2 separate regions of the Homo sapiens genome follow, and region 2 is linked to region 1. Evidence: promoter capture Hi-C in 16 types of primary human blood cells and fetal thymus (Javierre and others, 2016). All regions are on one chromosome and are shown on one strand. The core of a region is centred on a gene start or on the middle of the fragment in contact, and the rest is flanking DNA. Distances in the headings are between cores, read along the strand shown.

The links. The method cuts DNA at HindIII sites, captures the fragments that hold promoters and counts their contacts. A CHiCAGO score of 5 or more calls a contact.
Region 2: a fragment that was not itself captured here is called in contact with the fragment with the promoter of POMP in region 1 in 6 of 17 cell types (naive CD8 T cells, fetal thymus, total CD4 T cells and 3 more); the score reaches 7.6 in naive CD8 T cells.

What each region holds. Positions count from the first base shown.
Region 1 is chr13:28,657,781-28,660,449 of GRCh38, reverse strand. It overlaps POMP (proteasome maturation protein), which reads right to left and starts at 1,320. Exons shown (of 6, transcript NM_015932.6): 1 at 1,263-1,320. The coding sequence starts at 1,265. RefSeq lists a silencer at 1,388-1,447 and an enhancer at 1,668-1,827. The HindIII fragment of the contact is 5,788 bases long and covers 1-2,669 here.
Region 2 is chr13:28,142,738-28,145,406 of GRCh38, reverse strand. All of the region lies in intron 1 of PAN3 (poly(A) specific ribonuclease subunit PAN3), which reads right to left. Among named protein-coding and RNA genes, the nearest start is that of PAN3-AS1, 4.9 kb to the right of the region's middle. RefSeq lists an enhancer at 461-755. The HindIII fragment of the contact is 7,623 bases long and covers 1-2,669 here.

The sequences.
Region 1 (2,669 bases), core at 71-2,570:
TCAGAACACTTACACTAGCCTACAGTCGGCCAAAATCATCTAATACAAAGCCTACTTTATTAAAAAGTACTGGGTATCTCATGTAATTTATTGAATACTGTACTGAAAGTGAAAAACAGAATGGCTGTATTGGTACTCAAATATGGCCTCTACTGACTGTGTATGGATTTCACACCATCATAAAGTCAGAAGATTGTTGAACCACCAGAAGTTGGGGACCTTCAGCAGAGATGTGTGATTGTTGCTTTCCAAATGTATCTTCTATTACTTCCCTATATGAACATTCTCCTCCTTCTGGACTGCTTTATTGTAAAGTAACAAGGTTTCAACGCACAAAGAAAAGGTGAATTCTGACTTCTGGATTCTGTTATTGTCATTTTTCCCAATTTCCTTCTGTAAAATATCAAGATTAGTACTTGCTGTTTCTAATAAAGGAAGGAGCCGAGAAAGGCAAATCTACGAAAACCTAACTACTAGTTACATTTGAGAGTGCCTAAAAAACTTTTTAGATAACGATTAGCAGTATTTACCAATAGAAACTTTCTAGATTTGGATGGATGGCCTACCAGCAGTACCGATATCAGAGTCTGTGGCAATGGTGACTCAGTGTTCTTCTCAAATACCACAACTTCTAAGTTAAAAAGAAAGAGAAAGTGGTGGGGAGGAGAAGGAGGGAGGAGATATACTAACAATACTGGCAAACAGGGAATAGCAACTGTCTGATTTTTTCCCCTCTAACATCTAGCACACTACAAGCTCTCAAAAAAGTTTGTAGAGCAAAGCTGCGTTACACAAATGCGACCTATAGTTGTGGGCTGTTTACTAGGCAGTTACAAGGGCGGGGGCTGGGGGAGATGAGGAGTCTGAGAGCTCTGGGCTCCCAGAGGTTACCCGTCAAGGAAAGGGTCGCCAGCGCCACCCCACAGAACGTTGCACTTTCACGGCTGCCTTTTCCACTTCTGCGCCAAGTAAGGGGAGGAGGTCTGGGCCTGCTGGGGTCTAAGGGATGGAAGGGCGCAAACCGAGCTAAGAGGAGCAGGATGAAGCCGAAGCACTGCTAGTGGGACTAGTGCCGGGCCCCGGCGACAGTCACGACCCACCCAAACCCCGTGACTCGACAGATTATGGCGCCTGAGGCCGGCCTCAGCCCCACGCTGCCGCCGCCGCCGCCACCGGGGACGGGTTGGGAGGCGACTGCCTGTTTCTGCCGAGCCACGGTCCCGAGCCCGCGTGGAACTCCAGCCGCCCGGGTACCCACTCACCATCTTCCGCAGCTCTGCGAACAGCCTCTCTGCCCCGTTACCGTCAGTCGACCCCGCCGCTCACTTCCGTTTCCGAGGGCTGGCCCCCACATCCGCCGGAAGTGCGTCCGTCCTGGCGAGGAAGGAAGGAGGGCGCGGGACGCCGGAGGGAGCTGCGCGGGGCCGAGGCTCCCACGCTTGCAATCCCAAGGGACCCAGGGCCAAGGGCGCAGTAAGGGTGTGGGCTGGGAGGAGGGAGGGGTCGGGACGAGACGTGCCTGAGGGGAGGGAAGACACGGACTCCGGTTTATTAATAAACATCTACGGTTTGTACGGCATTTTAAGATGTGCAGTGTGCTTTTGTAGGTACATCGCCTTATTTAACACAAAACCTCTCTGAGGTAGCTATTACATTTCACAGAAGGGTAAACGAGGCGTAGGTGGTTTGAGTGATTTGCTTGAGATCGTTCGGCTAATAAAGCAAAATTGGGACACAAGGCTTTTGTCATTTTTAAAAAACATAATATTGAAGGCCTGGTATGTTCCGAACCCTGTGCTGAGGCTAGGAATACAAAAAAGGACCAGGCCGGTGTGGCCTCTGGGCTAGAGGAGCAGGGGTACTCCGGAGGCTAGAGGGGAGAGAGGGGACGATAGTGACTACAAATTAAGTAAATGTGATCATGACCGACATATGTTGGGCCCTTTGAATTGCGTTATCAACACAGTTCTAAGTGCTTACATCCTTTATCTCTTTTAATCTTTTCAATAACCTTACAAGTACAATTTACAGGTGAAGAAACCGAGACATGAAGGGCTTAAATAAATATGCCTAAGGACATATTTATGAGTCTAGAATCCATGCTCATTACACTATTCTGTATTGTTCAAATATAATGTAATAAAACGGCCTTATAGTCTGCTGCCACAGGATGGAGACATCTTAGGGAATCTTTGGACTGACAGCTAAAAGATAAGAGCGAACTAGTTTGGGGTAGTAGGATATTTAAAACAACATTACGTGCAGATCTGCTTGTGCAAAAACGGAACTGGAAAGAAGGCCTAAGTCTGGCTAAAGTTCAGAAAGTAAAGTGGAGAGTACTGTGAGATGAGGTTGTAAGTAGATGGAGGCAAGTGGTTTTTGTTGTTGTTTTTGTTTGTTTGTTCTAAATAATGATAGGGTTTAGCTATGTTGCCCAGGTCTGCGTTGAACTCCTGGGCTCAAGCGATTCTCCTGCTGCAGCCGGCTGAGTAATGGGAACTACAGGCGTGCATCATGGGACCTAGCTACAGGTTTTTTATGCAGCCTTTGTAGGCAAGATTAAGGATGAGGCTTTGTCTTTAAAAAGCCATCGAAGGATTTGAGAGAGGAAAATGATAAGGCCATATATGTTATGTATATCCACTGCCATGGTCATACAACTTTGAAGT
Region 2 (2,669 bases), core at 112-2,611, 520 kb after region 1:
GTTGCAGTTAGCAGAGATCACACCACTGCACTCCAGCATGGGTGATAGAGTGAGACTCTGTCTCAAAAAATTGTCAAAAAAAAGTCAAAAAATTGAAAGCCAAACCATTAAGTTAGGCACGATCTGTAATATGTACACACATACACACACACACGCAAGTGCAAATAAGACCGTGGAAATGTAAACAAGTAGACTACAGCAATCAATACTGGCCATGATACTGTACTACAGCTACAAAAGATGTTACTATCCTTTATAAAAGAAGAGTACATGAGATATCCGTATTGTATCTTACAATTTCGGGTGATTCTATAATTATCTCAAAATAAAAAGTTCATTTAAAATTGGGGGAAAAATTCCTCAAAATGGCATATAAAAGGATGATATTGGGCCAGGCGCGGTGGCTCACGCCTGTAGTCCCAGCGCTTTCGGAGGCTGAGGCAGGTGGATCACGAGGTCAGGAGTTCAAGACCAGCCTGGCCAAGATGGTGAAACCCCATCTCTACTAAAAATACGAGAATTAGCCAGTCGCGGTGGCAGGCTCCTGTAATCCCAGCTACTTGGGAGCTGAGGCAGGAGAACCGCTTGAACCTGGGCAGCAGAGGTTGCAGTGAGCCAAGATGGCGCCAGTGCACTCCATCCTGGGCTACAGAGTGAGGCTCTGAGGAAAAAAAAAAAAAAAAAAAAAGATGATGTTTTGGTTTGCTTTTGATAATCATTTATCTTCTTAAAGGGTCATTTCAAATGCACTTTCAGTCTATGATCATACCACTCTGAACACGCCCGATCTCATCAAATGCACTTTTACAGGAAAAAGTGCTTTATTTGTTAACTCAATCTCACCTGGAGTTACGTTATCCCTCGAGTTTTCCTCATAAAACTTATCGAAACCGGCCGGGCCCAGTGGCTCACGCCTGTAATCCCAGCACTTTGGGAGGCCGAGGCAGGTGGATCATGAGGTCAGGAGATTGAGACCATCCTGGCTAACACGGTGAAACCCCGTCTCTACTAAAAATACAAAAAAATTATCTGGGCGTGGTGGCGGGCGCCTGTAGTCCCAGCTACTCAGGAGGCTGAGGCAGGAATGGCGTGAACCCAGGAGGCGGAGCTCGCAGTGAGCCGAGACTGCGCCACTGCACTCCAGCCTGGGAGACAGAGCGAGACTCCATATCAAAAAAAAAAAAAAAAAAAAAAACAAAAAAACTTATCGAAACCAAGTATTACCTTATAGATATTTATAGCCCCACTAGAATGTAAACTCCATTAGGGCTGAATTATGTTTTTTTGTTGCTGTTGTTGTTCCTATCACCTTAATCAGAGCTTACCACCTTGGAAGCAGGATATTAAATGAGTGAAATGAACAGTATTATAAAGCCTTCATGATATACTAAGTATATTATTCCAATAAAAATGTTTAAACTTATGCCAGCTATCCTAACAGCAAATCGCCAGTACTCACTTCTCTGTCACTTAGTATAGGTTTGTGGGATGAAAAGGCTAGTCTTGGCTTAAACAAAAACAGCTTTGCCACACGCTACACATTACATATTCCAAAGCTAACATTTGAACTTCAAGTTATCCATGGCACTGCTCTCCTCCATTTGGACAATCACAATTCAATAATCTGTAGCTATTTTACTAGTCTTCAATGTATGCCCTCAAAAATTTGAAGAAGGAAATACAGAGGTTAACTATAGATTATTAATATTTAATAATAGCAATAACTAAGACTGAAACCTCAATATGTGCAGGCAATGCCATGCAATTTTCATAACATCTCCATTTTCCAGATGAGAAAAACTGAGGCTTAAAGGTTAAAAATTCGTTCAGTCACAAAGCTAGTCAAAGAGCCAGGATTCTATCTGAAACATGTCTTATTCACTAGTAACTACATTAGGAGAATTGAAAAGTGTATTTTGGTAAATTAAAACTACTGGGTTTCAAATAATGTACATAAAATACAAATATTGGCATATTTTACCTGTTAAAAATTGTACACTTTGAAGATTAAAGCCATTTTGAAAATCTAGCCAGTTGAAAATATTAGAATTACATCATTAAATGTCAAGAATCGATAATGCAGTTGAATACAAATCAAATCACTCTTAAGCCTTAGAAAAATCCCAAGACTAACAGAAATACGAAATGTTACGTAAGCTACATGGTACGGCATACCTGTAGTCCCAGCTACTCAGGAGGCTGAGGTGCTAGGATCACTTGAGCCCAGGAGTTGGAGTCCAACCTAGACAACACAGCAAGAACTCCCAACCCCCTCCTCAAAAAAAACAAAAACAAAAACAAAAACAAAAAATCAAATTGCAGTTTCCTTATAAGGTTGAAACATCATTGCAACTAAGTGTATTAAGAAAAAGCCTTTGTGCTTCAGTTTTCCAATGGCTGCAAAATAAAGATAAAGTTTTCTCATGCACCCACCTCCAAGGTTTTAACACTATCTGAAACACCAACAAAACAAAAACAATTCTGCAAATGTGAAGTGCTAAAGTTAGAGTCAAAACCTCAAATGCCTAGATATAAAAGTCATCCAGTTAGGGAATGAGTCAAAATGGAGAGAATTATGCTCTATCAACAGCTCTAATTCCAACACAGGTAAGAGACATCCTTAAAGGGAAACCAGAAATTTGTACTTCTATATTAAATCTTTTGTTTCT